3 separate regions of the Homo sapiens genome follow, and all the other regions are linked to region 2. Evidence: promoter capture Hi-C in human tissues and cell types (Jung and others, 2019). All regions are on one chromosome and are shown on one strand. The core of a region is centred on a gene start or on the middle of the fragment in contact, and the rest is flanking DNA. Distances in the headings are between cores, read along the strand shown. Region 1 overlaps GSDMA (gasdermin A). Region 2 holds the start of GSDMB (gasdermin B). Region 3 has its middle 15 kb from the start of ZPBP2.

The links. Contacts are between HindIII fragments. The study calls those that stand out against the background at their distance.
Region 1: a contact is called between a fragment that was not itself captured here and the fragment with the promoter of GSDMB in region 2, in 3 of the 25 tissues and cell types used here (lymphoblastoid cells, ovary and spleen).
Region 3: a contact is called between a fragment that was not itself captured here and the fragment with the promoter of GSDMB in region 2, in 2 of the 25 tissues and cell types used here (lymphoblastoid cells and thymus).

What each region holds. Positions count from the first base shown.
Region 1 is chr17:39,973,581-39,976,280 of GRCh38, forward strand. It overlaps GSDMA (gasdermin A), which reads left to right. Exons shown (of 12, transcript NM_178171.5): 8 at 230-250; 9 at 693-847; 10 at 1,320-1,434; 11 at 2,344-2,417. Among named protein-coding and RNA genes, the nearest start is that of PSMD3, 5.9 kb to the right of the region's middle. The HindIII fragment of the contact is 7,168 bases long and covers 1-2,700 here.
Region 2 is chr17:39,917,233-39,919,932 of GRCh38, forward strand. GSDMB (gasdermin B) reads right to left here and starts at 1,403. Exons shown (of 11, transcript NM_001165958.2): 1 at 1,302-1,403; 2 at 1-98. The coding sequence starts at 84. RefSeq lists promoters at 3-632, 183-591, 1,315-1,677 and a cis regulatory region at 1,656-1,669. The HindIII fragment of the contact is 12,682 bases long and covers 1-2,700 here.
Region 3 is chr17:39,881,755-39,884,454 of GRCh38, forward strand. No RefSeq gene overlaps it. Among named protein-coding and RNA genes, the nearest start is that of ZPBP2, 15 kb to the left of the region's middle. The HindIII fragment of the contact is 8,844 bases long and covers 1-2,700 here.

The DNA of each region.
Region 1 (2,700 bases), core at 25-2,524, 56 kb after region 2:
TTAAGAGTCTTAGTAGCTATAACCTGCTACACACACATCTGCAACTCGGCCGCCCAGCAACTGGGGCCAGAGCCACTGAGTCACAGTAATGCCAGGAACAAGGTAGCTGGGCTCTCCCAGGAGACAGGCAGGATGTATTTCCTCATCTTCCTTAGTGTCTCAACCCCTGGGTATGGCTGCCATTCTGAAGGATTGCATTCTTATCTTTTTTTTTTCCTTTTTTTCTCAGTTATCCAGGCATCTGATGTTGGTAAGGAACTTTGTGAGTTTCTCCCAAGACTTTGGCATGGAGGTAGCATTAGGGGCAGAGAGAGGAGAAGGCGAAGTCATTCTTTGTCAGCTAACTCATGGGAAGGGAAAACAGACTTTCTTTCTCCACTTTTTGCTGGAGTCTCAAAGAAAAGTCAAGTGTGTACTGATATGGGATAAGGCCTGGGATCTCAGGAAGATTAACTGTTGGGTTAGATGATACATGCATCCTGGCCCACCTTCTCGCCCCAACCCTCAGGTTAGGGTTGGTGGATAGTTCTGTCACCGCATTCCTTGGTAAAGAAAAATGGGGCCAGGCTCAAACTGGGGGGTAGAGCATGGGTACCTAAAGGGGGCTGAGTGTAGGAGCCCTGCAGGGGGAATGCTGACTGGAGAGGAAGGTGCCCGATGGAGGGCTGTGTGTCCCATTATTGTCCCCATAGGGGACGTACACGAAGGCTTCAGGACACTAAAAGAAGAAGTTCAGAGAGAGACCCAACAAGTGGAGAAGCTGAGCCGAGTAGGGCAAAGCTCCCTGCTCAGCTCCCTCAGCAAACTTCTAGGGAAGAAAAAGGAGCTACAAGACCTTGAGCTCGCAGTGAGGACCTAGTGGAAGTGGGGAAGGGTGGGAGAAGGCATGTTTTGGTGAAGATTTGGTGGGGGCGGGTATTGCAGCAGGTAGGGAGATCTGACGGGGGCAGGAGGTGGGTGGCCAGGGGAGTCCACCTTAGATACCTTCCCCAAGGCTGGCCACGTGCCCCAAGGCTGCCAGGCCACTGCTCCTCCCTTTGTCCCCTGGAAAAGGGCAAACAGTGGGTTCCCCCAAGGCACATGCTCCCTCTGATGGCCAGAAGGGACTTCTGCTGGAGGGGCTGGAACCTTCTCTTTCCAGAGTCCAAAACTCAGGAAACAAGGAACCCAGGAGTCCAGTACTCTTCAGGACATGAGGCCTCGAAAAAGAAATCAGGAAATGGAGAGAGTTTCCGCATGTCAAGGGGTTATTATGTGCTGGGCCCTGGGTTGGGCCCTTTCCTATGTTATCTTCAATAGTCGCCCACCTTCCCCCACAGCTTGAAGGGGCTCTAGACAAGGGACATGAAGTGACCCTGGAGGCACTCCCAAAAGATGTCCTGCTATCAAAGGAGGCCGTGGGCGCCATCCTCTATTTCGTTGGAGCCCTAACAGGTAAGTGGGGAATAAGGTCTTCATTTATAGACCTTTTCAGTAATAGGAATGAATCACTTGAATCAATTCCCAAATGGATGAATAAATGAATGAATGACAAATTATACCACAGTTAAGTAGTTTATATCTACATTTTTATAAATTGGTTTCATGGCTGGCTGCAGTGGCTCATGCCTGTAATCCCAGCACTTTGGGAGGCCAAGGTGGATGGATCACCCGTGATCAAGAGTTCGAGATCAGCCTGGCCAACATGGTGAAACCCCGCCTCTTCCAAAAATAGAAAAATTAGCCGGGCGTGGTGGCAGGTGCCTGTAATCCCAGCTACTCTGAAGGCTAAGGCAGGAGAATCGCTTGAACCCAGGAGGGGGAGGGTGCAGTGAGCCGAGATCACTCCATTGCACTCCAGCCTGGGCAACAGAGCGAGACTCCATCAAAAAAAAAAAAAATTGGTTTCATTCCTAAGGATTTGCTTGGTCACATTGGGTAGTCTGAGAAGACAGCCTAGTCTTGCTAATAGAGGTTGAATAACCCTAGTTTTATCAGCAACATATTTAAAATTTCTGCATATAGCTAAGCTCATCACTTCTATCCTGATACCTGTTAGCTTTAACTTCAGGGAGTAACATTTTCTTATCTTGCCCCTAAGAGCTCTTCTTCCCTCCACATTTTCTAGTTTTCCACTTAGAAAAACTCTGTGGTCCTTCAGGTGTAAGCCAAAACGTTTGTTCCCTTAGGAAGCCTGCCCTCCGACTCCAAGACCAAAGTGGACCCCTCAGCTATGGCTCCCTTAACACCTGCGTTGTAATTACATCCAATGAATGAAGGCTGAAATTCTGGAAGTGCGCTATTTGGAGGCTGTAGTCCCCTCTGCACCAGCAACACACATCTTTCTCTGCTTTTTTTCTCCAGAGCTAAGTGAAGCCCAACAGAAGCTGCTGGTGAAATCCATGGAGAAAAAGATCCTACCCGTGCAGCTAAAGCTGGTGAGGGAAAAACAGCAGATGCTGGGGAGAGTCTGGGAGTAGCTGCAGCCAGTGGAGATGCAGATTTCGCCTAAGGATGGAGCCATTCTGGAGGATCCCTGTCTTATCCCAGGGGCTTATGCCCACTCCTCCTTTCTCTCTCTATTTCTCATTTTTTGTTATTTCACAAGAGGTAGAAGACTGAATTTCTGGGCAATAATCTGGGTTTATTAGCCTGATCTTGGGAGAAGAGACAGAAACTGTGGCTTTGCTTATTCCTAGCCAAATATTGTAAGCAAATTTT
Region 2 (2,700 bases), core at 153-2,652:
AAGGCTTCTAACGGCAATCATATCCCCTCCAGCATCCATCTCCTTAACTACAATTCTTGTGATTTCCTCAAATACGCTGAACATTGCGCCTGGACCAACTCAGAAACAGAAGCCAATTTCAGTTTTTGGGAGGAGGGTATTGGTTCAAGTATTTAAATCTTCCACATTTGGCAGCCTGAGGTGTCAGGCCTCTGAACCCAAGCTAAGCCATCATATTCCCTGTGACCTGCATGTATACATCCAGATGGCCTGAAGCAACTGAAGATCCACAAAAGAAATGAAAATAGCCTTAACTGATGACATTCCACCATTGTGATTTGTTCCTGCCCCACCCTGATACAATATAGTCTCCCCGCCGCCGCCCTTAAGAAGGTACTTTGTAATATTCTCCCCTGCCCTTAAGAAGGTACTTTGTAATATTTCTCCACCCTTGAGAATGTACTTTGTAAGCCTATCCCAAACATATAAGAACTAATGATAATGCCACCACCCTTTGCTGACCCCTTTTTTGGACTCAGCTTGCCTGCACCCAGCCTTGTTGCTCATATAAAGCCCGTTTCGTGGACTCTCTTCACATGGACGCACGTGACATGAGGTCAAGGAAGAGCCAAAGGTTCCAGGACAATCAGTACCTGGAATGATTTGCCTGCCTTACTTCTAGAACGTGAGGCAGCCATGACTCAGTAAAGAGGGCTAAACATCACAGATCCCAGATTCTCCTCTGCCCCTCATGGTACCCATCTGGAGGAAAAAAGTAGCAGCTATTGCCCCAAATAGAGAAAGTGAGACCCATTTTCTACATCTCCCACAGCAGAGTTGCCCCCTTGTTCCAAGGGGCCCAAGGGATGGAAAGGCAGGCCCACCATGCCCCAGCCAGACTAGCCCCAACGTTGATGAACAGAGGAACCAGGGAGGAATGACGGGCACGGTTGCCAGACTTCACATTACTAACCTCAACTGGTCGTTTCTTCCCTTGGCTCTGATTCTTGGGCTCCCTGCCTTGCTGTATTCTGCAAGGCAATTGGATGGGTGCCTCCCTACCAACAATTTCCCAATGAGGTGGTGGTAAATTGGCCTCAGAAGAAACAAAAGCTTCCTGGGATCCACTTCCCCATCCTACCTTTGGCCACCTTCCCCTATATCCCTTCTGCCCAGCACAGGCACTTATCCACTCACTGCTTCCTCCTCTGTCTCTGGCCCCATCATGGTGGTTGACTCTCAGTTCACTACCAACCTGGGAATTCTAGGTGTCTGGAAAGACAGTACCCGGGAACCACAGGCCCATCTCAAGTGGTACCCACCTCCTCTCTGACCTCAGCTGTTCACCAGAAATGGAAGTTGTGAGAATCCCCACAGATCTCTGCACAGTTCCTGGCCTCTGAATCTCAGGAAGCTAAAATAATGAAACTGAAAGTTGTCCAGGTGTGGAACTTCCTGGACGGGTGGGTAGGGCTGGGTGCCCCACCTCCCAAGCCTTTAGATAAGCCACCTTATAACTGAGCTGGAGGCAGATTAAGGCCAGAACCCCCCTTTTTTTTTTTTTTTTGAGACGGAGTCTTGCTCTATCGCCGAGGCTGGAGTGCAATGGCGCAATCTCGGCTCACTGCAAGCTCCGCCTCCCAAGTTCACGCCATTCTCCTGCCTCAGCCTCCCGAGTAGCTGGGACTACAGGTGCCTGCCACCACGCCCAGCTAATTTTTTTGTGTGTGTTTTTTAGTAGAGACGGGGTTTCACCGTGTTAGCCAGGATGGTCTCAATCTCCTGACCTTGTGACCCACCCACCTCGGCCTCTCAAAGTGCTGGGATTACAGGTGTGAGCCACCATGCCCGGCCAGAACCCCTTCTTCTTCTTGTACCTAAGGAGTGGGTAGGAGATCCTGGTATGTATTCTAGGTGAGTGTGGGCCAGACAATGGTGCACACCGTGGCGCCCTGGGCCATGCAATCCAGTGTGTTTGGAATAGAGAAATGGAATATGAGTAGGTATCAAGTGCCAGCAGGCAATGGCTGTGTCTGTGCCAGGGACATGAGGACCATAACCCAGCAGAACCAGCTGCCCAAATGCCATGCGACGGTCAACACTGAAGACCCAGGACAACAGCAGCTAACACCTGGAGGCAACAGGGTGGGCCTGTAAGGAGCACTCAGCCTCCCTCCCCATCTCGTGCTCCCGTGTACACTCTCAAGGAGATGCTGGTCTTCCTTATCTGGATGCCATCTGGCTTCTCCACCTACCTCCTTCTCCAGGGAGAGGCCTCTGACCTCACCCATGTCCTCTCTCAGAGATAACCACCCCGGTGAGCCCAGCCTGTCTTCCAGCCTCTGCATGCCTCAGTTCTGAAAGAACATTTGAAGGGATGACAGGCCAGGCGTGGTGGTTCATGCCTGTAATCCCAACACTTTCAGAGGCCGAAGCAGGCAGATCACTTGAGGCCAGGAGTTCAAGACCAGCCTGGCCAACATGGCGAAACCCCGTCTCTACCAAAAAAAAAAAAAAAAAAAAAATTAGCCAGATGTTTTGGCACACACCTGTAATCCCAGCTACTCAGGAGGCTGAGGCATGAGAATTGCTTGAACCTGGGAGGCGGAGGTTGCAGTGAGCCAAGATGGTGCCACTGCACTCCAGCCTGGGCAACAGAGCAAGACTCAGTCTCAAAAAAATAAATAAATAAATAAATAAATAGACGACAGTGGTGGTAGT
Region 3 (2,700 bases), core at 177-2,676, 35 kb before region 2:
ACAACAACAACAAAACTATCTGGGCCTGATGCTTTCTGTCTTGGAAGGTTATTAATTATTGATTCAATTTCTGGCTGGACATGGTGGTGCACACCTGTAATCCCAGTACTTTGGGAGGCCGAGGCTGGCAGATCACTTGAGCTCAGTTGTTGGAGACCAGCCTGGCCAACACGGTGAAACCCCGTCTCTACTAAAAATACAAAAATTAGCCATGCGTGGTGGAGGGCACCTGTAATCCCAGCCACTCAGGAGGCTGAGGCACGAGAATTGCTTGAACCCAGGAGGCAGAGGTTGCAGTGAGCCGAGATCACGCCACTGCACTCCAGCCTGGGCAACAGAGCAAGACTCTGTCTCAAAAAAAATAAATAAAAATAAAAAATTAAAAAAAAAATTCAATTTCTTTAATAGATCTAGACCTATTCAGAGTATCTGTTTCTTCTTGTATACATTTTGGTAGGTTTTGTCCTTTAAGTAATTTGTTCATTTCATCTCAATTATCAAATTATAGAATTATTTATAATATTCCTTTATTATCTTTTTAATGTCATTAATGACATTAATGTTTAGTAGTGATAATCCCTCTTTTATTTCTGATATTAGTAATTTGTGTCTTCCCCTTTTTTTTCTTGGTTAGCCTGGCCAGAGTTTTATCAATTTTACTGATGTTTTCTAAGAACCAGCTTTTGGTTTCCTTGATTTTCTCTGTTGATTCCCTGCTTTCAATTTAATTGATTGTTGCTCTAATTCTTATTAGTTCTTTTTTTCTGCCTGCTTTAGGTTTATGTTGCTCTTCTTCCTGTAGTTTCCAGAAACTTGTACCTCTAATCTAAGGCACATGCTTAGATTATTGATTTTATATTTTTCCTATTTTCTGATATGTGCATTCAATGCTATCAATTTCCCTCTAAACATTTGCTGAATCCTACAAGTTTTTATAAGTTGTATTTTCATTTTTGTTTAGTTTAAAATATTTTAAAATTTCTTTTGAGATTTCTTTGACCCATGTGTTATTTAGATGCCTATTGTTTAATCTCCAAATATCTTTTAATTTTCCAGCTATCTTTCCATTATTGATTTTTAGTCTAATTCCATTGTGGTCTTCAGGCTTACTGTGTATGGATTTTTTTTTTTTTTTTTTTTTGAGACGGAGTCTCACTCTGTCGCCCACAGGGAGTGCAGTGGTGCAATCTCAGCTCACTGCAACCTCTGCCTCCCGGGTTCAAGCGAGTCTCCTGCCTCAGCCTCCCAAGTAGCTAGGACTACAGGCGCCCGCCATCATGCCTGGCTAATATTTTTATGTATTTTTAGTAGAGACAGGGTTTCACCATACTGGCCAGGCTGGTCTTGAACTCCTGACCTTGCAATCCGCCCGCCTCGGCCTCCCAAAATGCTGGGATTACAGGCATGAGCCACCAGGCCCGGCTTGCTTTTATTGTTTTAAATGTGATCAGTACTCGGGAGGCTGAGGTAGGAGGATCGCTTAAGGCCAGGAGTTTGAGACCAGCCTGGGCAACATAAGCATCTCTTAAAAATTTTTTGCTCAGGTACTCTGTTAACAATGTCCAGAATGTTGTTTATCTTGGTGAATGTTTCATGTGAGCTTTAGGAGAATATGTATTCTGCTATTGGTGGATGGAGATTCTGTAAATGTCAATTAGATCCAGTTGATTGATGATGCCATAATTCAACTATATCTTTACCGATTTTCTGCCTGCTGCATTTGTCCGTCACTGATAGAAGAGTGTTGATGTTTCCAAGGATAATAATGGGTTTGTCTATTTCTCTTTGCAGTTCTGTTAGTTTTTAACCCACCTATTTTGATGCTCTGTTGTTAGGCACCTATAAACGACTGTTATGTCTTCCTGGAGAATTGACCCCTTTATCATTATGTAATACCATTCTTCATCCCTGATAATTTTCCTTGTTCAGAAATCTACTTTGTCCAAAATTAATATAGCTACTCGAGCTTTCCTTTGATCAGTGTTAGCATGGTATACTTTTTTTTCTTCCTTTAACCTAATGATAACCAGTTGCTGATAGGTAGCTATTCTGAAATGAGGACTTTCTGTCAAGATAGTGATGTTTTATTTTCACTGTGAGCTGGCTTTGTTTCCTGCATAACTATAACAGATTGCTAATTAACATTGATAAATATATCTCATTACTTTTTCCAATCACCATACAGGTTGAGTATCCCTTATTCAAAATACTTGGGGCCAAGCATGGTGGCTAACATCTGTAGTCCCAGCACTTCAGGAGGCTGAAGCAGGAGGATCACTTGAGGCCAGGAGTTTGAGACCTGCCTGAGCAACATAGTGAGACCCCGTCTCTACAAAAAAAAAAAAATTAAATAGCTAGGTATGGTGGCATGTACCTGTAGTCTCAGCTACTCACAGGCTGAGCTATGATTATGCCACTTCACTTCATCCTCAGTGACAGAGCAAGACCCTCTTTAAAAAAAAAAGACAAAAAACCTTGGGGCCAGCAGTGTTTCAGATTTCAGATTTTGGAATATTTGCATTATATCTACTGGTTGAGCATCCCTAATGCAAAAATCAAAAATGCATCCCTAATCCGAAATCAAAAGTGCTCCAATGAGTATTTCCTTTGAACATCATGTTGACACTTAGAAAAGTTTCAAATCTTAGATTTTCAAATTAGGGATACTCAAACTGTATCTTTCCAAAATAAAGCAGTTCT